Linked DNA regions of Homo sapiens: all the other regions are linked to region 1. Evidence: promoter capture Hi-C in 16 types of primary human blood cells and fetal thymus (Javierre and others, 2016). All regions are on one chromosome and are shown on one strand. Each heading gives the region's core, a stretch centred on a gene start or on the middle of the fragment in contact. The rest is flanking DNA. Distances are from core to core; before and after follow the strand shown. Region 1 holds the start of FYN (FYN proto-oncogene, Src family tyrosine kinase). Region 2 overlaps TRAF3IP2 (TRAF3 interacting protein 2). Region 3 has its middle 16 kb from the start of REV3L. Region 4 overlaps REV3L (REV3 like, DNA directed polymerase zeta catalytic subunit).

Region 1 (6,212 bases), core at 2,331-4,830:
ATAAAATTTGAAACATGACAAAAAGTAAGATTTTTGAAACATGCTTAGGATGAAAAGATCTAAACTTATAAAATCAAAAGAAAAGCAATGACGGGTGTCCGCTCTAGGTTTCTATTTAATTCCCATTAGCCTATAAGTTTCTTGAGGGCAGTGAATGTGCCTTGATAAGTGGCAGTGTTTGACAAAGCTGTTCAATAAAAATACATTTATTCTGTATCTTTTTTCTGAGCACATGGCTAAACTACATTTCCCAGGCTCCCTTGCAATTAAATGTGGCCATATAACTAGCCCTCAAGTAAAGAATGTGAGAGGAAGTGATGGTGGCACTTCCAGGCTAAGGTATTTTAAAAGTGGGTGTGCCCCGTCTACTCTCTGTTGCCCCTTCTGTAAACTGAAACAGGTTACGATGATAAGCTATGGGATGGTGGAGCTACAAGATAGGGGTGTGGGACCCAGAGTCACTGCATGGAGGAAAGCCACCTACCGACCAGAAACATGAATTTTTGACTATTAAATGAGCAAGAATAAACGTCTATTGCTTTTGAGCCATTATATATTTGCAGGCCTATTTGTTACACCTGCTAACATTAGCCTAATTGATACAGGTGTTGAGCACATACCAAAGACCTAACTCACATTTGTTTAATGTTAAATGAAACAGAATACCCGCTAAGATAAAACTTGGTAGGAAACAAGATAAGTAAGATAAGGTTCCTTTTATCAATGTGCTGACCAATTAATGGTGGAAATAGACTCATGCGAAACATAATGCCTGCTGCCAAAGTTTGAAACCAAAACATGATGATTTGTTTGGAAAGGAGAAGATGGAAACGGCTTCACAGAGGAGATGACATTTGAGCTGGGCCCCAAAGGTTAAAAAGGACTTCGAGCAAGTCAGATGGGGTTGGAGATTCCAGACCCAGGAGAAAGCAGAGTGTGCATTTGCTCACATTCAACCTTATCATTAAGTCTCTTAAACTTGGTCAACAGAGTGTGAGTTTATGTGCTCTGGCTTTCCTTCCTGGGTCTGGCATCAAACAAACGACCCTTTGTTTTTACAGTACACTCATTAACCCTATTGCTTTTTTTATCGTAAAAAGTTCCACGATGAATGTTCTTAAAAAGTGTGTAAGTAAATATTTAATGAATCATAACTCTTTTCTAATAAAATTACTGAAGACTAAACCTACAGTTCTGTTACTTATAAAAATAGTCGAGGAGCCATACTTTTAGGAAAGAACAGGTTCAACTTAAGTTTTGACAATATCGATTAAGCATGTAATAGTCACTGGCTTACAAAACGGAACATTAAGCCCCCAGATTTACATTAACATTTCTTCCTTAAAGGGAACATCAAATGGTTTAGACTTCAGTCAAGATTCTCTACAGCCCCAGTTCATAGCCAAGTGGCCTCAAAGCCTCAGATAGTTAAACCACTTCCTCCAAAAGTCTGTGAGTCCCTTCATCTGAATACAGGGTACCCATGGAGCAGGGACTGGGGAAGAAGACAGTACATAGGGTGGAAAGTATTGCAGTTGCTTGGGTGGTGAGAAAGGAAGTAGGCGTCCCAAGACTACCTTGAAGCAGGCAAGAGGCAGTCTGCAGTGGTCTTCCAAATGCTAACTCTAGACCGTTTTATCCACGTCCCCAGGTATTTACTTCAATAAAAGGGTAAAACAACATCACTGGGCAGACAGGATTTCATTTCAAAAGACTTCAGTACAGTGCCCTCTTAGACTTGAGAGAAGAAGCCATTCAGGCTGCCTCCCTCTTATCAAATAACAATTTAATTCTGATTCAGAAACAAAATTCTTGTGACCCCCACACCAATCTACTCTACCCCAGCTCTTAGTACTTGTTCCCAAAAGGACAGGGGAAAGAACGAGGGGATGGGGAGGCTACCTTAAAAGTAAAGCAACTCTTAAGACTGCTGGGATAACTGTTCCCTTAAATCTAAGAAACACTGCAGCTGCCAGTCAACACTACCGGTCTCTGAACACAGCAAAATGCCGACACCTGCCACCCGGCATCCGGGGGTTCTTTTATTTTTTGGTAAATGTGGCAGGAAAGACTCAGAGAGATCAACTGCTTCATGGGAAAGAAAGGGAAGCCCCAGGGAAGAGAGACAAGAAGCATCGTGCCTATCCTAGGGTACTTTGTGTGTCTCCTCTCTATGCACTGAAAGGGCTCTTTGTGTCACACTCACACTCACACACCCGGCGAGTCTGTGTGATTTATTGGGGGAAGGAGGGGCAAGAAGGGTGATTTTATTATCCCTCTTCCCAGTGAGTCCCAGCACATCTCTGCTGGGCCCAAGCTCGGTGGCCTCCTTCTGGCCCAGTCCCCTCCGCCTGTGGCCGCAGAGATAACAGAGGGGAGGAGCCCAAACAAAAACAGCCATGGATCTAGGGAAGTAGAGAGGAAATCCAGCGAGGGAGCCGGAAAGGAAGGAGAAAAGAGCTGGAGGGAGCAGAGGGGTGGGGGACAGAGGAAGAGGAGGGAAGGCTCCAGCACAGGGGAAAGGGGAAGGGTGGGTGGGTGGTGGCACAGGAAGAGTGAAGGGGAGGATGGGGGAAGTGCAAGGGAGGTGCCAGAAATAGGCAGGAGGATGGGTTGGAGAAGGCGACCGCCGCCGAGGGAGGAGGCCGAGAGGTGGAGGAGTGGGGCAGGGGTTGGGTGGGGAGGGAAGCAGCACGGGGCATCAATTATTAAGTGATTACATCATCCCTGACATTAAAACAACACACACAGCCCCAGTCCCCGCGGGGGGCCCCAAAAGGAGGGCGGGGGCGGAGTCTGGGCCAGCCTCGCCCCCAAGCCAATTCCCATTTTCACCCGGCGCCCGCTTGCGGGCGAGGAAATGGGGTCCCCATCCCCGCGCTGCCTCGGGGCCGCACCCCGCAGGGGTGTCCTCCGGTGCAACCGCGGGAAGACCCCAAGCACCGACTCCCCGGCAGCCCCGCGGAGCGCCCTGGCGGCCAAGGGACCGCAGCACCGGGCCCTGCGGCGGGGGCGGCGTGCGCGGGGGCGCCGGCGGCCGGGCTTCTCCGCAGCATCCCCGAGGCCTCCCGCGACGCATCCCCGCCGCCTGCTTACCTGCGCGGCGCTGAGGCTCCGGAGCCCACTCACATGGTCCTCTCCCCGCCCTCCTCCGGCGCGGCCGAGGCGGCTCCGGGGGGTCCCCGGCGGGCCCGGGAGCCGGTGGGCCTTCCGAGAGCACCGAGGGGGCGGCGCCGGGGTGTCCCCGGCCCGGCGGCCGAATCCCTCCCTGGCGCGGGCGGCGGCCGCCGGGCGGTGCGGCGCGGGCGGCGGCTTTGTGTGCGCCCGGGCGGTCCTCGGTGCGCTGGGAGAAGCGCGGCGCGCCCGGGCGGGAGAGGACGCGCCGCTCGCACAACAACCTCGCCTCTACTCTCGCCGCCGGGCGGCGGGCGGGTCTCGAAGGCCTTCGGCTCGCGGCGACCCCTCCTCCTCGCCCGCGGCAGCCCCCTCCTCGCCGGCTCCGCTCCTGACAGATGGCGCAACTGCAACGACGCGCCGCCGCCACCAGCGCGGCTGCTCGCTGCTACTCTTGCTGATGCTCTGCCCCTCCAGCTCCGGAGGGGAGCGAGGAGGGGGCGGGGCGCGCCTCGAGAGTGACAGGCCCGGCTGCCCTATCAAAGAGCCCCTTGGGAGCTGCGAGCCGCAACCATTGGCGCCTGGGGCGTGGGCGGGACGGCAGTAGGTGGGGCCGCCGAGTGGGTTGAGCGTTACTGTGGCAGCGGGCATCCCAGGGTGCGTGCGGTGCAGGGTGTGCAAGAAAATGCGAGGTTGGAGGAGGAGGTCTGTGTGTTTTTAAGGATTGTGTGGAGTTGTGAGGTGGCGGAGTAGGGCGGGAGAAAGAGCGGAGAGTGTGAACTGCAGTTTCCGCTTTGCGGAAGGTTGCAGCTGCTGCTGCAGATTGGCACCTGCCATTCCCCCAAAACCATGGGAAACTGCCTCGAGACAGGGCTATCTTGCCTTTCTGGTGTCTTTTCATTTGAGGGTGAGAGGATGAAATGGAAAATTGGGCGGTGATAGCAGCGTTTTCTTTGATCAAACTGAAAAGAGTACGGAGCAAAGTAGAATCCTGTCCTGAAACGTGGAAACGCACAACAAATAACAATGAGGAGGAGAAGGAGATTAGGATCATTTTATCAGTCCCCTATTTCTGCGGACACTCATTTATATTTTTTTTCTAGCAAAAGTCTGGAGGAAGTATTACTGAAATAGGGGGAGGGGCCAAGCGGCGACTAAGGAACCTGAAATGACAGAGATTTGTTCGTACATTCCCCGCCCCACCCCCAAAAAACCTCGTTTAATTGTAGTCATTGGTTGTCTTTGGTTTCTCATAACATTCAAACTTCTCATGTTTTTTTCCCCTTCACTGAATCTGAGCTTTTGCTCATATTTCCCTTGATGAAATAATTGCCGGTTTAGTATACAGTTGGGAGTGCATCGGTCTTTATTTCCTATCCAGCTTTTCTATGGCAGGATGTAACTTCATAAAAAGAAACACTTTGGCTTCCTGATTTTCTTTATAGGTAATTCCTGTTTACTGAAAGTTCTGCTTTAAGGCATACTCAGAATCGCTCTCCTTAATGATTTTGGCAAGAACCCTACCTTCCCCCTCAGCAAATCTAATGTTCTAAGAAATTATAAGTGAATCAGCTTCTGCTTCTGTGCTCAAAATCTATAATATTGCCTTTCCGGCCCACTACTTGTTTTTACTGTAGTTTAAAAAAATCTGTCCCTTTTGCTGACTTTTTTCTTTTTGTACACACTACTTTTTAAGAAAAGTTGCTAACATTTATTAAATGATCTGCATCCTATGGAGGAGGAAACTGAGGAAAAGAAAAGTTAAGTAACTAACTCAAGGTGACAGTATACAGAGGTTACTGGATTTTTTTCCTTTTCCTTAAACAAAATGACAAATTAAACCATGTTTAAATTGTGTCTGGAAATTCCATAATCCCAAGAAATGGAACCATAGCTAGGACTAGGATATTTCCATACAAGAGAAAGCCAGCTTCATTTAGCCAAGAATTGCTTATCTCAAGAGCAGAGGCTCTTCGTCCTCAGGGCTAGTCCGCAATGGCTGCTCTGGGTTTATTTGGATTGGGATGCAGAGGCAGTTGGGTAGAGCAATGGTTCTCAAACTTTGACATGTATCAGAAATAACTGAAGGGGCTTGCTTAAACATGAATTGCTGTGTTTAACCACCTGAGGTTCTGATTTAGGGGGTTTGGGATGGTGCCCAAGAATTTGCACATTTAGCAAGTTCCCAGGTGATGTTGATACAGCCAATCTGGAGACAGCACCTTGAGGACCATAGTTCTAGAATTGGGCTGTCCGAGGAGGTAGCCACTAGCCACATGACTGTTAAGTACTTGAAATGTACTTCAGTATTGGAAATTTGGCTACTGCAAATTAGGATGTGCTGTAAATGTAAAAGATGTATTAGATATTTCAGATCAAGCATGAAAAATGGAATGTAAAGTATCCCATTTTAATATTGATTACATGTTAAAATGATAGTCTAAATGTACTGTGCTAAATAAAACATTATTAGAGTTAATTAAATTGTTTCTTTTATTTTTTAAATGCGTCTACTAGAAAATTTTAAATAACCTATGTGGCTCAAGTTATATCTCTATCGGGCAGCACTGGTCTGGAGTTGTTTCTGATTCCAGCTCCACAGTTCACTGTTGGGAGCGCTTTGATGAAGCAAGTCGCTTATCCTTTTTGAACCTTAGTGTCCTCATACGTAAAATGGGAAAAATAGTAAAACTGTTCTCAAACTATTCCGGACAGACTAAGTGTCATATGCTCTCAAGAAAAAAACACTCTTAGGCTATATATCTCCTTGAAATCTCATGTTTAGTTCAATCTATCTTACGCTAAATCTGGAAATCTGGAGTAGGTGGGATAAGTCCTCTCTCTCTCTCTCTCTCTCTCTCTCCCTCTCTCCTCCTCTCTCTCTGTTTCTTCACGAGAAGTCACTTCTTAGTGTCTGCAACTGTAATAGCTTCTTGATCTAATTAGTGGACAAAGAGACAATGTGATTAAAATGACAGATTAACCTGCTCCCATCAAGACTTCATCCTGTTTTTTGTAATTCTTTGCTTACCTACTTTTTTATCTGTTGCCCGTCTTAAATGTAGCTTTAAATGGATTTGGACTCCTCAGGAGGATTT
Region 2 (6,240 bases), core at 3,588-6,087, 290 kb before region 1:
AGGCCACACAGTAGGAGGTAAACAGTGGGTGAGTAAGTGAAGCTCTGTCTGTATTTACAACCACTCCCCATCACTTGCATTACCGCCTGAGCTCTGCCTCCTGTCAGATCAGCAGCAGATTCTCACAGGAGTGCAAACCCTATTGTGAACTGCGCACATGAGGGATCTAGGCTGCACGCTCCTTATGAGAATCCAAGGCCTGATGATCTGTCACTGTCTTCCATCACCCCCAGATCTAGCTGCAGGAAAACAAGCTCAGGGCTCCCACTGATTCTACATTATAATGAGTTGTATAATTATTTCATTATATATTACAATGTAACAATAATAGAAATAAAGTGCACAATAAATGTAATGCACTTGAATCATCCCCAAACCATCCCCATCCCCAGTCCATGGAAAAATTGTCTTCCATGAAACTGGTCCCTAGTGCCAAAAAAGTTGGGGACCACTGCCCTAGACTGTCTTAATTCTCTTCTGCTGTCCATTTGTTTTGGGGGTTTTTTGGTTTAATCGGTGTCTCCCTCCAGAAGTAGGAAGGAGAAACACAAGGTAAAAGAGGAGAAACTTTGCCAGTGGCCTTAAAAGCCTTTATGAGGAAAAAGCTGAAAGTATCTTGAGAAGTTTTTAATGTTTGAAGCCATTTTTCTTCCTATATCCATTAATGAATGGCTAATATTGTTTTATTTGCTTTAAAAGGACTACCAAGCTCTAATCATAGGGTTTATTTCTTTTCCAGAAAGCGGATGTTGGTGCTGTTAATCAAAAGCCTTTGAATCAAGGTCATATGATTTCTAACAGATTATTTCCCTCACAACATGTCTTTGTCTCACAGCAACAAATCATATCATTAAAATCACCAAGGCATGTGGGCTAAGTGTTTGATTAGCTGTAACTTTCATTTCAGAAACGGCCACCTGTGGTAAAAAGTTATGCCAGTTTATGTGAGCAGATGAAAATGATACACCTCATCAATTTTTAAAATTAGGGTACTGACAATATAGTCCTCCATGCTGTCCTTTTATTGTTGAAAACAAAGGAAAACTGAGTATCAGTGGATCAGTAAGAAATGAGTGTTCCCTTTTGTAAGTGGAATCTGACCAGCTTTGTCTGGAATTTGACTGGTTGTATGGAAAAGGTTCCTAAATAGGCTGGACACGCCTGTAATCCTAGCACTTTGGGAGGCCTAGGTGGGTGGATCTCTTGAGCCCAGGAGTTTAAGACCAGCCTGAGCAACAAGGTGAAATCCCATCTCTACAAAAAAATACCAAAAAAAAAAAAGAAACAAGAAAAGTTGCTAAATAAAAACTATGTTTATCAAGTAAATGACCATCATTTCACTGCTAAAGTTTTAATCATTTTTTTCCAATTACTATGACGAAGGCTTGCCAATTTACTTGGGTACTATACATGTAAAATAATGGCTAACATTTATTGATCACTTGCTACATGTCAAGTACTGTTCTAAGTTCCATATTGAGAATTATAGAGTTCAATTTTCCATTTTCATAAAGAAGTTTAACTCAGAATAAAAATCCAGATTCCTCACCATGGCCCATCCAGCCTTCATCTTCTAGCACACCATTCTCTCCTTGCTCACTCTGCTAGGCCCCACTGACTTGCTTTTGGTATCTTAATGACATCAAGCTCCTTGCTTCCTTAGCTCCTTGCTTCCTTGACCTTCTCATCCTTTAGGTTTCAGCTCAGATGTCTACTTAAAGAGATTCTCTGGTCAACCTGTCTATTAATGTCTGTTCCAACAACCAGTTACTTCCCTTATAGCACTTATAATTTGTCATTCTGTTTCTGACTTCTACTTCTTATCCATCTCTCCAGTAGACTGTGAATTCCATGAAAACAAGGACGGTGTATAACTATTTGCTGAATAAATTGATAAGTGGATGGACAGGTTCTGTTTCCAAATTTCATTGACTCCCTTCTTTGCTTCCCTCCCAGGCCAAAAAAAAAAAAATGGCTTTTCCAAGGCTTCACATTACAAAGACTCTACTCATGATTAAGGCTCACTCCTTTCCCCAGGAAGTAGAGAACAGATTTCTTTTTATTCATTCAACAAATATTTATTGAACCTCGATGGCCAGGCACTTGGTGAACAAAGATAAATAGGATACAGTTCCCTTGGGATTAGCTCAAAATAAATGGAGAGAGAAAGAGAAAATCTATGTGTCTGTGGGTGTCTGTTTTTAAACACAAACCCACACTAGTTAGTGTGTGAGAAGGGGAGACATATGAGTCGACAGCCACCTACTTGAGAATCCCTGTTCAGAAATAGCTTCCCTGCGGACTTGTCCCCAATGCCTACAGTTCCATCAAGAGAGTTAATTCTGTAGGAGAGGGAAGGTGGATGATGTGATAGACAAATGATTTGCTAGCATGGTAACTCCTCAGTTCAGAGGCAGTGTTAATCACAAAGCAAAAATGAAAATCTTGCACAATCACAAATGGGCGCCCAGGACTGTATGTTATTTGTCAATCCTGTGATCTTCTTGGCCTGAGTACACACGATCTTCATGTTACTGAGCTTTTACCATTTGGAATATGTAAACCAAATCCTAAATGAGGTTTTCCATTTATCAGTCACAACATGCAACATTTTTCTTCCTTATTAAGAATTAAAAGAGTTTATGAGAGAGAAATAAAATCTGATTTTCAAGTTGTCAAAAAAAATCGTGATATAATGCAATCAGTTTAGCCAGGAAACAAAATGGCCAATATAAACTGTTGCAGGAACTCCCACAGCTGTAAGCAGCTGTCGTTCCTGAAAGGCAACTCCTTCTTTATCATTTCTTCCATCTGGTTTATTTTTTGTGCATGCATTCTAGCATACAAATAATCCCTCCCCTTTTTTTTTTTTGGTCCACAGGTACAATTGTACACATGTACCTGTAATTTTATTCTATTCAGTCTCCTTGGTAGAGAAAGCAATAATTTTATAATAAAATGAGGGCTCTCTAGACTTAATTCTCTCTCTTTTCCCAATATATTTGCATCATGAGTTTCATTTGATTGCACAGCCATGAACTCCATGCTGGCGACCTTCAGTGGAAGGATTCGGAGGCAGCAGGAGGCCGACTTCTCCAGGGGGTGGGGTGAGGAGAAAACGTAGACTTATTCCCTTTCTTATTTCCACCTACTTTGAAAACTTTTTTTTTTTACATGAAAGGGGCGACCAATAACCATTTTTGCTTTAACTTGCAAAAAGCTTAGATATGCCATTTGCATGGTGATCATTATTTATTTATATATTCATTAATGGGTAAGGAAGTAATGCTCTTCTAAAGCTGAGTAGAGCCACGTAGCCATGGTTTCCAACTGCACAAGCATCCCTTAGGTGAACAGCTCTTTTGAAGTGGTTTTGTTAGCAATTAAGTGCAGTTATAGCCCTGACATGAAACTAAGCATTTGTACACCTGCCATGAATGCTTAAAATCTGTGCCAGTGAGTGGGATCTGGAAGTAGAGGAGCACCCTGCAGAACTGGGCTACAGGATGCTTTTAAATAATAACAATAATAACTAAAAGCTGTTAGTATTGAGGGCTTACCACCAGCCAGCCACTTTCCTAGTGCCTTTAATACATTATCTCATTTAATCCTCACAGCAACCTTCGTGGGACTCATTGCTGCTGGAGGCCTCATAAATATTCTAGGGCTACAATGCCCTGCAAAAAACCCATCAGCACTGGCAACCCTGACCCTCTTCTCTGTGGTTAGATGGGAGCCAGGGCCAAGGGACATGCAAGGTGAATTGGGGCGAGCTTGCCTTCTATATGTGCTGTTTCCCTTTGTTCTTTTCAGTTTTTACTCATTTCTTAATTATAGAAGTAATACCTGTTTGCTATTTTTATTTTTATGTTTTCTATGTGTTTTTGTTTTTGTTTTTAAGACTGAGTCTCATTCTGTTGACCAGGCTGGAGTGCAGTGGCGCGATCTCAGCTCACTGCAACCTCCACCTTCCGGGTTCAAGTGATTCTCATGCCTCAGCCTCCCCGAGTAGCTGGGATTACAGGTGCCCACCACCATGGCTGGCTAATTTTTGTATTTTTAGTAGACAACATTTCACCATATTGGCCAGGCTGGTCTTGAACTCCTGACCTCAAGTGATCTGCCCTCCTCTGCCTCCCAAGGTGTTGGGATTACAGGTGTGAGCCACTGCACCCGGCCGTTTGCTATTTTTAAAAATCAACAAAAGTATATGAAATTAGAAGGAAAATATACCTGTCTCCTCTTAATTCCCTGCTCCCCTCCCCACCAAGATCACCACTAGATCCTTCTAGACTTAATATGTATATATAAACCTATATAGTTTTTAAAAAATAAACATGGATGGGATCATCACTGCAGCTCTTGCCTTTCAACTTAATCTTTTTGATGTCAGAATGTGTATTCAGTGCAACATGGGCCTAGTAGTCCATAGTATACATAAATCACAAATGACTTATCTGGCCCCTTATTGATAGGCATTGTAATTGTTTTTGTTTTTACTCTAATGCAACAATGCTTTAATAAACATTCTTGTTCTTGTATTTGTATATGCTTGTTTAATGTTTCTATAGGACAGATTCCTATAAGTGAAACTGCTGGGCCAAAGAGGAAGCACATATAAAACTGTGATAGTGAAATTGCCTTCTGGGAGATTGCACCAATTTACACTCCTATCAAGAGTGATTGGGAATATTCATTTCTCTCTAACTCCACTAACACTGGATGTTGTCCAAAGTTTTTATTTTTGCACAACTAATCAAGGAAAAGGTATCTTTAAGAATTTTGCACTTCTTAAATCTAATGATATTGAGCTTGGTTTAATTTTCATATTGGCTATTTGTGTATCTTCTGTGAATTATTCCCCTCTCCTATCCCCATTCTCTCCCCTCTGCCTTTCAACACCTCTTTTCGCCCCAAGGATCCTAGATGTCTCTCCCCAACCCCCTAACAGAAGGAAATAATACAGAGAGCAAGGGGATGGTGAAATGATGAAAGAAAGCAGGTCCTGGGGCAATAGGGACAAAAAGTGTTCCCAGTCAGGAGTGTTTGCCTTTTAAAGGAGCCTGCCCCAATGGGACAACGCTCACCTCCAAAGACTGGATTGCCAATGGCGCTGTTTCAGCTCCAACAACAGGAAAAGTATTTTCCGTGGGAAGTATTTTCCAGAAGGTCCTGGGACCTTCATTATAACATTGAGTCAGTGCTTTTTTTGTCTATCACAATGAGGCTTTCCCTTGTTAGTAGTCAGAGTCAGCTGCTTGGGACTGTATCACAAAGCCTTAAGTATTCACAGTTCTTCGCATTAATCTAAGGAGTTAATCGGAAGTGCAGTTAAAAACATATGTATGCAATGCTTGCCATAGCATTGCTTATTGGATCAGAAAACTGGAAACTATTTTAAATGTCCAACAATAAAGAATAGGTTCATAACAATTTGGTAGATGCGTCTGATGAAATACAATGAAGCAGTTTTAAATGATTCTGGAATAAGTACTCAATGTCACTGAAAACTATTTTAATTTTAGATTAAAAATATATGCAAAGAAAAAAACACTGAAAATTGATATGTCAAAACCCTAATAAGGAATTCTATTTGGGTGGCAGAAATATGAAAACTTTTTCTTTTCTTTTTTGAACTTCTGGGCATATTTTAATTTTGGGAGTGACCAAATATTATAATGATCAGAAAAATTATCTTTTTTTTTTTTTTTTTTGAGATGGAGTCTCACTGTGTCATCGCCCAGGTGCAGTCTCGGCTCACTGTAACCTCTGCCTCCCAGGTTCAGGCAATTCTTGTGCCTCAGTCTCCCGAGTAGCTGGGATTACAGGCGCCCGCCACAACAACTGGCTAATTCTTTTTGTATTTTTAGCAGAGACAGTGTTTCACCATGTTGGCCAGGCTAGTCTCAAACTTCTGATCTCAAGTGATCCACCCACCTTGGCCTCCCAAAGTGCTGGGATTACAAAGTGGGGTGAGCCACCGTGCCTGGTGAAAACTTACCTTTAAATACAGATAACAGAATGTTAAAAAGTAGTTTATGGTATTATTCTCACAAATTACTCCTTTTAAACCTGGCAATCACTGAGAAATACAGCCTTGACCTTGCCAACATTCAGTTCTCAGTGATTCATACTTAAGGGAATCCACCACCACACCCACCCTATGACTGGGCGCTTAGAGCAGGGGTGGCATCCATGCACTCCCACTCTGTTGACTTCCCAGCATTTATACACCACGTC
Region 3 (6,098 bases), core at 1,626-4,125, 370 kb before region 1:
GTTTTGGGTCTAGTTCATCTGATAAGGTACATTTCTAATATTTTTTAAAATTAATATTTATTCAATCAAAAAGAGCATGTCTTAGACATCATGGGATGAAATGATAACTGAAGGAAAATAACTCCTAAAAATAGTCACCCTATTTAAAGAGGCTTTTGTAAATCAAAGTAGTCTCTAGTTGTAATTCAGGGCCAGAGGTCTTAGGCCCAGGTCCCTTGAGTTTTTTCATTCTTGAGTTTCCCAGCTTCTCCCTTCTGCTCTCAAAGATTGTCTAAAAACATACCCCTTTTTTCCCCTGTAGTAGCAGGGAAAACAGCACTATTCGGGTGGGGAATAGTGATGGGGCTTATTGGTATATATAGGTCATTTATTGAATAATAGTAGAGCATTCTGGTGTTTAAACTCTGCAGCCCAATTTCCCTACTTACCTGCTCCATAACTTGGGCAAATTACTTTCTGTGCCTCATTTTTCCTGTCTGTAATAAACAGATAATAATAGTAGTACCTACCTCTTAGTGTTGTTGTGAAGATTGAATTACATATATTAAATGAGTTAACACCTTAGACTGCTAAGCACTCAATAACAGTAAGCTATTCACAATTTAGAGGCAGCTTCTCCATTTCCTAAAATATACTTATTCATCAAGAAGAATGATGTAATAGTGAAAGGTAGGAGTTTTAAAAATTCCGTTGATTGGATGTAAAAAGTAGATTCTTAGAATTTCAAATAACCCAAGAAATTATTTATACCATTGGTTCTTAACCAGTAATATGCATCAGAATCATTTATGAGACGTTGTAAAGATACATTTATCTAGGCCCTTTCTTCTCATATCTACCAAGTCAGAATGCCCACAGGCAATTCCAGTGCAGTCTTCCTGTCAAGACCATTGAAATAATCCAAGTCTTTAGATTTTATAATGAAGAAATTGAGACTCAGAGAAAGTAAATGACTTGCCTAAGACCCCATAGAGTAAGTGAGATCCAGGTTACCTACCTCCTTGGTAAGCGATCTTCCTATTCTTCTGTGTTGCCACCAAATATATTAACTTTTAAAGAACCTAATATGAGAACTTATCCTTCTGTCAGTTATATCAGGAAGAATAATATAGGCTTTAAAACTTACTTCATTCAGCATTTAAATCAAAATAACAAAATTCCGGCCAGGTATGGTGGCTTACATCTGTAATCTCAGCACTTTGGGAGGCTGAGGTGGGAGAATCCCTTGAAGCCAGGAGTTTGAGACCAGCCTGGACAACATAGTGAGACTCTATCTCCATAAATAATAATAAAAAAACTAGCCAGGTGTGGTGGTGTGCACCTGTGGTCCCAGCTACTGGGGAGGCTGAGGTGGAAGGATTGCTTGAGCCCAGGAGATCAAGGCTGCAGTGAGCCATGATCACACCGCTGCACTCCAGCCTGGGAAACAGAGTGAGATCGTGTCAAAAAAAAATTTTTTTTTAATTTTTACAATTTATTCAGAGGACTATTGCACCTGTACAGAAGAACTTAAAGTGAATTTTGCTGTCTTTTTCATGAGGACATTAGTCTTTGCCACAATGCTTACTACTAATGAGTACAAGAAAACGCTGTGTGGGACAGAGTTGCTCGATCCAACCTCACAGATTGACAGGCAAACAAATGTTTTATAGGGCAAGGTAGCTGTTGGAATTAAACTTTTTAGGATTTTTGATAACAGAATATGTACTTCTCATAATTAGGGTTTTTTAAACATTTTTAAGGATTTTTAAACTTTTATAAAATCTCAGAATTTTCTAGTCTGTGAACAGTTCATGTAGAAAAATCAGTGGTTATTATGTACACTGTTATTGCAGCTTCGCTGAAAGATTAAAAATCTAAAAAATACAGTAAAAATAAGTTCTGAGTTTTTGTATTGATGTTGGGTGCTGTGATGTTATCTCTTTTAAAATGTGTTTTTCTTTTTCCATAATATAAAGGAATCAAAAAATACAACTTGTATGTGAACTTGTGCAAATGTGTGAAACAAATTAAGGTGACAGGGCAGAAGCAACAAAATGAAGCTCAAATGAAATCCACCTCTCAAAGCAGGTTCTATTTAATTTCTCTATATTTGCTATTATAAATTTTTTATTTTCATATATGTGTTTCTTTGCTAGAGATGATAATTGGATGCCAACCTAACTTCCAATTTTTAGGTGATTATTTTACCAACAAACCACTCACCTTGATGAGTGCACTGCATGGCCCCCGCTCCAAAGTCCACCATTCAGATCCTCATCAATATGTTATGACGACTGTTGCCTTTACTGTGTCTCTGCCTGATTCCATACCCTTTGCTCTACATTTCATCTCAGGTTCTGTCTTTTGGACCTTTTCACTTGATGCTTGTTCCTGGCATTTGAATCTCCATTCAACCTGATGATCTTTGATTTAGACTCACCATCCAGTTCCAAGCTGCCAGGATTTATTACCCTCTGATTTCAGCAGCTCAGAAATCCCTGGCACAGTCACAGGCTGGCTACCTCAAGGGACCAGCCCCAAACACTAGTGCTGTATTATAAACATCCATTTATTCATCTTTTTAACAGATTTTACTTATTGCCCACTATGTATAAGGCACTACAGAAGTTTCTGGGGATATAGAAGATTAGTGGCAGAAAGCTCTTAAGTCTCTTAAAATCTGGTAGGACAAATAATACAACTACATAATTATAATTTAAGATAGTATGTGTTCAACTACTAGAAGTTATATATACGAACAGGACAGTAATTAACAAAAGCTTCAAATAGATCCTTAAGTAATTAAGGAGCATAGGGTACGAGGATACGTTACCAATAACCTAGAGTGGTAGGTCACTGACAGGTGGCATCTTAACTAGATTTTGACGGTAAGATAGGGGAGACATCATGGAAGACAGATACTACAAAAACTGGAACCAACAAGAACAGGAAAAATGTTATGTTAAACCTTATTTATCCAGACTGACAGTGTAATGAGGAGTGGAAGAAAGCTTAGAAAAATTGGTTAGAACCAAGTTCTGGAAGGCTTTGAATGGTGAAGAGTTTAGAGTTGGCGAGCATGTATTGGACAGTCAGAAGGTTTTGAGCAGGAAATGAAATGATAATTGGCTTGATTTAGCAGTGGTATGTAGGAAGGATTTGGTGGTGAGGTGATATGCAGGCAGAGACTGTAAGCTAGTAATTTAAAGTAGGGGAGGGTCTGGAGATGACTTTCTTCATGTCATTAAATCTTGTTATTTGTGAGGTGCTGAGCTAGGTGCTGGGGAAAGAGTGAGAACTAGATCCTTGCCATGAGGGAGTTTTCAGTCTAGTGAGAGACTTGATATCTTAAAGCCTCCTTGAGGGGTCTCTATCCAAAATTTGGTACTCTGCTTCTGACTCTTGCCTGATTACTAGGTGATTAGATCCTCAGTTTACAATGGGCTGTGTTTCCTACCCTCTCAAACTGCTTTTCCATTTTTTGTGTCAGCTAAGGCAAAAATATTGCAACCACTTGTATATGGAGAAAAGCAATTTATTACTTAAAACAAGATAAGACATGAATACTGCACCAGATAAGGCAAAGAAGAAAATGACATGTGTCTTAAAGAGATAACTGAAGATGATGTGGAGAATGAATTGGAGGTTATGTTAGGGGCAAGAAAACTAGTTAAGAGGCTGTCGTAGTAATCTACCTGCTTAATTAAGAGGGCCTGAACTAAGACAATGTGAAAGAAAAGGAGTCCTTGGTGGCTACTTCCACCATAATCCTTTCTGTCTCTCCCTTGGTACAACGAAGGGATAGATAGGTGACTCTCATTTGGAATTGACTTTTGAACTGAGGGATTCAAAAACAACAAACACTCAGTTTACTTCAGACTTAGGGGTAATGCTCCTACTGTCAAGTAGTCTAGTTTCTGGTTATCTTTTTATTTGGAACATGGTTCTGCAGTCTTTAGTGAGCTTCCTGATAAATCTTTCTTTTGCATTAGTTAGACTGTTAGTTACTAGTGGTTACAGTATTAAAAACAACACAAAACAAAACAAAAACTACCCTAATTGACATTGTATGTGATATTTGAAGCACTTATGGATAACTAGGAGAAAACTGTTAGGGAGTTGGAAATATGGAACTAGAAGTGTGGTTCTCAAGGTGTGGTCACTGATGCAGCATCAGCATCACCTGGGAACTTACTAAAAATGAAAATTAACAGGTCCCATCCCAGACTTACTGAATAGGAAACTGGGAGTGAGGCCCCAGCAATCTGAATATTAACAAGCCGTCCAAGTGATTCTGATGCACACTGCAGTTTGAGGACCAACTGAACTAGAGCTTGAAATAGAGATTAGGAGTAGAAATAAAGATGTGTAAGTCAGATACATAACAGTCACTCTTGAGAGAATGAATAAACTCCCTAGAAGAGTGGAAGAGAGAAGATGAGCCCTTGAAGTAAATGGAACAATCAAAGAAATAAAAACTAGTGGAGTACAATAAAAGCGGGAGAAATTTAACAGTGGTATGAAATGACCTATAGTGTCAGGTGCTGTACAGAGGCCAGCATGGATGAGGATCATGCCAAAGCTGTAAGACTGACCATTAGGAGAATTTTGGTGTCAGTTAAAAGAGAAGTGGTACAGATAAGAGTAAATGCAAAGGAATACAAGCAAAAACTAAAGGATACTTTTTGCAGCAGTTTGGGAATACAACAAAGGGACTTAGAATAATATGGTCAGGATGAGGTTTTTCAGGGTAGATGCATCATTTAGGTTTTGCTGTATAACAAACACTCTAAAGTGGCTTAAGACAATAATTATTATTATAGCTCACATGTCTGAGGGTTGGCTCCTCCCAGCTGGGCTTGCTCATACATCAGCAGACCTACTGGGAGCTTTGCTCTAGGCTGGACACTTACCTATCATCCTCCTTCTGTGACTGTCCAGCTCACTTAGGCATATCTTTCTCATGAAGATGGAAGAAGTGTTGAAGAGGGCAAACAGAGGCTGGGCGCGGTGGCTCACACCTATAATCCCAGCACTTTAGGAGGCCGAGGCGGGCGGATCACCTGAGGTCAGGAGTTCGAGACCAGCCTGGCCAAAATGGTAAAACCCCGTCTCTACTAAAAATACAAAACGTAGCCGGGTGTGGTGGCACATGCCTGTAGTCCCAGCTGCTCGGGAGGCTGAGGCAGGAGAATCACCTGAACCTGTTTGCGCCACTGCACTCCAGCCTGGGCGACAGAGTGAGACTCTCCCAAAAAAAGAAAAAAAAATTGGGGGTGGCGGCAAACACAAACACATGGACTCCAAACTGACACTAGCACTTCTCCCTCATTCTAGTGACCAAAGCAATTTATGTGGCCAAGCCCGTATTCAAGGAGCAGAGAAACAGAATTCTCCTCTTTAGAGAACTTGCAAAGTGACATGGCAAAGGGCATGGATTCATAGAGGGATGAAGAATTGGGACGCTTAATACCACAGTAGGAGGCCAGGAGTGGTGACTCTTGCTTATAATCCCAACACTTTGAGAGGCCGAGATGGGAGGGCCCAGGAGTTTGAGACCAGTCTGGGCAACATAGGGAGACCCTGTCTCTCCAAAAAAAATTTAAAATTAGCCAGGTGTGATGGCACGTGCTTGTAGTCCCACCTACTGGGAAGGCTGAGGCGGGAGGATTGTTTGAGCCCAGGAATTTGAGGCTTCAGTGAGCTATGATTGCACCATTGCACTCTAGCATGGGAGGCAGCAAAGCAAGACCCTGTCTCAAAACAACACACAGTAGAGATGACCCGAACATGCTTGAAAGTACAAAGAAGGAATATGTAGAATGAGGAAGAAAGAGAAGTAAGGAGAAAGACAAATAAAAGTTCAGAGAATTAACCTTTGAAAACAGAAAAGATACTTCTGGGAATGGAAAGAAGGGAATTTGATTGGATTAAATTTAACAAATTAAAATCCAAGATGCCCAGTTAAAATTGAATTTTAGATGAACAATTTTTTTTAGTATTTAAGTATGTCTCATGCAATATTTGGCTCGGTACATTTGGTATTTTTTGTTATCTTAAATACTATTTACGTGTTTCTATATTTGGGACATAACTTTAAACTAAAATTTTTCTTT
Region 4 (5,615 bases), core at 2,410-4,909, 390 kb before region 1:
CAAGCGATCCTCCTGCCTCAGCCTCCCAAGTAGCTGGAACCACAAACGTGTACCACCCTGCCTGGCTAACTTTTGTATTTTTTTGTAGAGATAGCGTCTTTCCATGTTGCCCAGGCTGGTCTTGAACTCCTGGGCTGAAGCAATCCTCCCACCTTAGCCTCCCAAAGTGTTGGGATTACAGACATGAGCCACTGCATCCAGCCTGAAACGAAGTTTTGACTGCGACCCATCATGAGGTCAGGTGTGGAATTTTCTACTTGTGGCATCATGTTGGTGTTCAAAACATTTCAGATTTTGAAGGATTTCAGATTATGGAGTTTTAGATAAGGGATGCTCAACCTATATTAAGCTCTCATATATATTTAAGTTAATTCTAGTCTTTACTCTGTTTTAGTGCTGTCATGTGCCAAAACCATGTTACTTTTCAAAACATTTTAAAATTAAAACCACTTTACATACAAGTAAGAATAATACAACCAGAAATTACTGGCTTGCTTTAATTTATGAATCATTTTGCAATTTCTAAATGGAATTTATATAATTAAGTTCAATATGATCATCATGCAATCATGCATTTTGGTTGACACATATTTTGGAGACCATTACGAATCTCATGTCTCCCACTACATTTCTGGAACCATATCTAGAAAATCAATTTTTCCTTAATTTTGTACATGGTTTTTTTAAATTATAAAATCAGCACATGTTATCTGTAAAAAATCTGAAAATATAAAACATACCTTCCAGAGATAACCAACTTTTATACTTCGGTGTATTTTTTTCCACACTTTTAATAAGTGACTATTTTGTAAACTAATTTTTTCACATAATATGACAGCACTTTCCCATGTTATTACACATACTTCTACAACATGTTTTAAACACATCCTCCCAAATGAATATACCCAGTTTATGCAACCATTTGCCAATTGTTGAACACTTAGAGTTGTTCTCTGTGATGATTATCATCTATTTATTAATCCTTGCCACAAATGAGTTCCAAGAATTAATAGACGAGTTTCAAGCACTGTGGTAAGCATTAACTCTATAATGGTGAGGAAAAAGAAACACATTATCAGGATTTCTGGAGGTTACAATCTATTTGGAAAAACAGATGTTAATCTCCAACACATATGAAATTACAATGACAGCAAGTGCTATGAGGAGAGTTCATGGTGCTCTGAGAGTCTGTGATAGGGAAGCCTTCCCTGAGGAAAGATAAATCGAAGTTTAGGTGAAAGAAAAGTAAAAACATTCTCAGCAGGGGCAACGGCAGGTACAAAGCCCTCACTGTGGGAAGGAGCATGGCAAGAACAAGGGACTGAGATAAGGCCAACAAGGCTGGAACAAAAAGAGTAAGTCAAGAACATGGCTCAAGTCATGACTAGACAGAAAGGTAAGGGCCAGACTATGCAAGACCTTGTAAGACAGGCAGATGCCACCATATAAGACACAGAGTTCTGTCCATATCCTGAATGCAATGGAAAGCTACTGAAGCATATCAAACAGTAGGGTGATGTAATCAGGTTTGCATTTTTAAAAGATCCCTCTGATTACAGTGTAGGAAACAGATCAGAAGGGGACAAAGTAGATTGGGATAAACCAAGATTAGGAGGCTACTGTAGTAAACCTGACCAAAAATGCTAGTAGTTTAGGGTGGTGATGGATTATGAAAAGAAGTAGACGGATTCAAAAGACAACCAGATTTGCCAAAAGATTTATGCTCATAGATTAAAATCCCTAAAACTAGAATTACTGGGTCAAAAAAGAACACTTCAAGGATTCTAATATACATTGCCAAACTGCCCTGCAAAGAGCAGTTGTCTTCATCTGTCAATTACCTTGTAGCTGTTCCTCTATCTGAAATTTTAAGTTCCTTAAAAATTCCTTTAACATGACTAATCCATATTTCCTTCACGAAGTCTTCCCTGACTCCCCTTTTTGCCTGGATATAGAACATGTCTCCCAATGAATCCTTGCTTTGTCTTATACACATTTCTATAGTCCAGTCATACTGCATTTGACTTACGTTTACATGCCCATCATCTCTACTACATTGTGAGCTTCTGGAGAGTAAAGCTGTTCTTAAGGCACTTAAAGCTAAAACAACTTGCTACTCAGGGCTTCAAATACCTACTTTAAAAAAAGTGACCAATTTGTTTGTGATGAGTCATTACATCTCCATAGCGTTCCTGAAAATCTCTCCAATAATTGTAATCAAATAGGTGTTATATGATCTTAAAATATTTTTAAATAGCTTAGTAAAAAACAGACTATGAACAAAGCAGATTCTATTAGAGAAACTTTTGAACCTGAGTTGTTGATACACGCTAATTTTCAAAATTATTCTTATTGCAAATTTAACTCCAATTTACCAAAAAAAAAAAAAAAGGTTATTCTGGTAGTTTCTTATATTTAATTTTATAAAATATAAACAATGAGAATATATTTATAATTGGATAAGCATCTACATAAACTTATATAGCATTTCAGAATTATCAATTCCTTATGTTGAAAAGCTTGATTTCATGGCTAACAGTATCTAGAACAATCTACCAAAATATTCACTAAGCTAGAGGAAGTGGCAGAGTTCCTTAGAGTAATCTTAAAGACAAGCAGCTCCCTCTATAGTCTGTCTGGCCTACTTTGTTTAATTCCTTGCTTTGTGGACATCCCACACTCTTCTATTTACTCCTACTCTGCATCTCAGCAGGGAAGCTCTTTGAAAGGATAGTTCTGTTTAACCTGGTGCTGAGGAAACTGTGAGAGCTGTCTAAACTCAGCATGAAGTGAGTTACATCAAGCAACTAAGCAAAAGTCGAGATGTGGAAAATGGACAGCTTCCCAAGTCCACCTCAGTCAAATCCTTAAATGAAGCCTGATGATTTCATTTGTAGTGAATCCTCTGAGTGGTCACACCTATATTCAAATCTAAATGAAAAAACATTGTCCTATACTTTATTCACAACCTTTCTTCCCTCCATTAAAACAAGTTACCAAAATGTTGTTCTAAAAGAAAAAATTAACAATTTATTCTACAAATGATACTGCTCAATTTGATTATGTCAAAATAATGTTCAAGACATTTTAAAAACTAGTTAAAAAAATGGAGAGGAAATTTGTTTTTGTTTTTTAAAAAATTCCATAACTCAGATGAAGAAACTTTAAGTGATTCCCTTAGGAATCAATATCCTCAGTTGGCAAGGGATTAAATCAGTCAGGATTTACCATTCAAATCTGAATATCCCCCCCCGCCTTTTTTTTTTTTTTTTTTAAGACAGGCTCTTGCTCTGTTGCCCAGGCTGGAGTGCAGTGGCGTGATCTTGGCTCACTGCAGCCTCAACCTTCTGGGCTGAAGCGATTCTCCTGTCTCAGCTTTCCAAATAGCTAGTACTACAGGTGCACACCACCACGCCCAGCCAATTTTGTTTGTTTGTTTGTTTGTTTTGTACAGACTATGTCGCCCAGGCTGGTCTCCAACTCCTGGGTTCAAGCGATCCTCCTGCCTCTGTCTTCCAAAGTGTTGGGATTACAGGCATGAGCCACAGCACCCAGCCCTGAATATCCCTCTTTTTAAAAATACCTTTTCAAATTTCACCAACTTAAGACATGGGAGCTTTTAAACCCAAAACACTTTATTTCTTAAATTACTCAAGATACGTCCTCAAAACACAGAACAATCAAAAGTCAACTGGACTGTTTTCTAAAGCAGAAAAATGCTTTTCAGGCAATAATAGAAAAACTAAACTAGTAAAAGGGTATTAATCCAATCAGTTCAGAATTTGTAATATAATTTTGAAACGGCCACTTCATTTGAGAAAAAATATCTTTGGTTGCTATTTTTCAGGATCTCATTTGTAAAGCAAAGTCAATTTTAAAACATTTTCTCTCCAAACCAAAGTAAAGCATTAAGGACCTCCCAAAGTAATTCTTATATATGAAAAAAGTATGTTTATGCTATTTTATGTAGCATAGGTTTATCATGTGTTACACATTTTTATTACCTTATTTTACTTGTTAGTAAAGATATAAACTATAAAGATATAATACAAACCATGTTTATATCTTTGCATTATGTTTACATCTTTACTTTCAAATAAATCTGTCTTCATTAAAAATTCTAGCATTCAGAGTTTTACTAAGTCAGACTGGCCTCTCTTTTATATTAATAATTTTCAAGTTTTATTTTATTGGACTAGTTTTCCTTGGGGAGATAATTCAAAAGCAGGTAATTCTGCAGTTTTTGATTATGTTTAATTAATATTAATCTCACTGGGAGTTTCTGACGTGCTAATAAAAATGCTGGCTTGGTTTATGAAAAGTGTAAACTCTAAATGTATGCCAATGACTTCAAATTTTTTCTTGTTGAAACAAACATTTTGTTGGAAACTGTGAACTACATGGCAAATTCAATTTGATAATCCTTAACAATTTAAAATTTGACTTTCTCTGTATCAAGTTTTATGTCTTTCAATGTACATATAAAAAGTGTTACTTTTTAATTCATTTAAAATATAAATTTCAAAGTATGTACCAAAAAAAAAACCCCAATGGGGGTTTTTAGTCTTTGGTTTTTTCGTTTTTGTTTTTTTTTTTTTTTTTAAGGTGCTGGTAATCTATTGTGGGATGTCCATGAAGGATTAAATAGGAAATAGTTAATGTGTCTTTTAAAAAATATTCAGGAAAACAACAGTATATAATATTCTTTATTTTTTAAGGAACATTTCCTCACGTAATAGAATTACATTAGCTTACAGTGAAACTCATTTATTTCCACAAACGAAACTTTCCTATACAACAAAGCTTGACTATCTCTCAGGAAAACATATTTAATGACTTGTGTGGAGGAGAAAAAATTATGTGTGGAAAAGTAACTCAAACCATACAAGCTGTAATACACAGAAATGCCACAGTATATCCTATTAGCATGTCACTTTATGATTCGGAAATTTGGCTGAACAGGGCCATATCAACTTCACTATTTTATCCTTCCTCTGCATCTGAAGTGAGAACAGTGCATTACACTGAAATTCCAATTGGAAACAAAGACAGCACCACTATATTTAAAAGGGCAGAAAACCTATCTTATAGAACACTTCATCGCCTCGATTTCCCAGCCTCCAAAGTTTCAAGTGTTACACTTTCAACACGTTAAAAGCACTCAAATTCCCCATCTTTCAAGGTTCATATCAAAATCATATTCACTAGTTTAAATAGGAATATGCTACCAAATCTCACAACATTGACATTTTAACAAAGAGAATTCACATTAAAAGATAACTGCTTTAAAATGAGTGCTTGTGTTTGGGAAAGCGCTATTATCTTGGTAGTCCACAGAAACTGACTGTAGTAATAAGATGAATGGTGATGAGGGCAAGGAGCATCAAGTGGGAAATGCTATCTAAAATCCCATAGGGCAATTCATAGCTAGAGGGAAGAACAACCTTTCCTAAGATGCATTATTTCCTAGAACTCCATTATTTCATGGAAGCAGTTCAAAGCATGCAAAAAAGCAAAACCATTTTAAAACACCTAGTAAACTGGGCCTCTATCTTTTTTATATTATCATAAGCCCCAGGAGTTTTTGAGAACGTACCTTCTGTCACGGCTGTCTC

The links. Contacts are between HindIII fragments. The CHiCAGO score rates a contact against its expected background, and 5 or more counts as called.
Region 2: a fragment that was not itself captured here is called in contact with the fragment with the promoter of FYN in region 1 in 2 of 17 cell types (non-activated CD4 T cells and activated CD4 T cells); the score reaches 6.6 in non-activated CD4 T cells.
Region 3: a fragment that was not itself captured here is called in contact with the fragment with the promoter of FYN in region 1 in 2 of 17 cell types (total CD4 T cells and activated CD4 T cells); the score reaches 5.9 in total CD4 T cells.
Region 4: a fragment that was not itself captured here is called in contact with the fragment with the promoter of FYN in region 1 in 3 of 17 cell types (non-activated CD4 T cells, naive CD4 T cells and activated CD4 T cells); the score reaches 9.3 in non-activated CD4 T cells.

Annotation. Positions count from the first base shown.
Region 1 is chr6:111,869,872-111,876,083 of GRCh38, forward strand. FYN (FYN proto-oncogene, Src family tyrosine kinase) reads right to left here and starts at 3,581. Exons shown (of 14, transcript NM_002037.5): 1 at 3,097-3,581. LOC102724646 (a long non-coding RNA gene) reads left to right here and starts at 3,581. Exons shown (of 3, transcript NR_168402.1): 1 at 3,581-3,819; 2 at 6,180-6,212. RefSeq lists silencers at 2,701-3,100, 3,251-3,500, 3,621-3,710 and an enhancer at 3,153-3,652. The HindIII fragment of the contact is 15,284 bases long and covers 1-6,212 here.
Region 2 is chr6:111,583,376-111,589,615 of GRCh38, forward strand. All of the region lies in intron 2 of TRAF3IP2 (TRAF3 interacting protein 2), which reads right to left. It also overlaps TRAF3IP2-AS1. Among named protein-coding and RNA genes, the nearest start is that of TRAF3IP2, 19 kb to the right of the region's middle. The HindIII fragment of the contact is 3,238 bases long and covers 3,219-6,240 here.
Region 3 is chr6:111,495,910-111,502,007 of GRCh38, forward strand. It overlaps TRAF3IP2-AS1. Among named protein-coding and RNA genes, the nearest start is that of REV3L, 16 kb to the left of the region's middle. The HindIII fragment of the contact is 231 bases long and covers 2,761-2,991 here.
Region 4 is chr6:111,476,254-111,481,868 of GRCh38, forward strand. All of the region lies in intron 1 of REV3L (REV3 like, DNA directed polymerase zeta catalytic subunit), which reads right to left. Among named protein-coding and RNA genes, the nearest start is that of REV3L, 4.2 kb to the right of the region's middle. RefSeq lists enhancers at 899-1,791, 2,389-3,113. The HindIII fragment of the contact is 2,284 bases long and covers 2,518-4,801 here.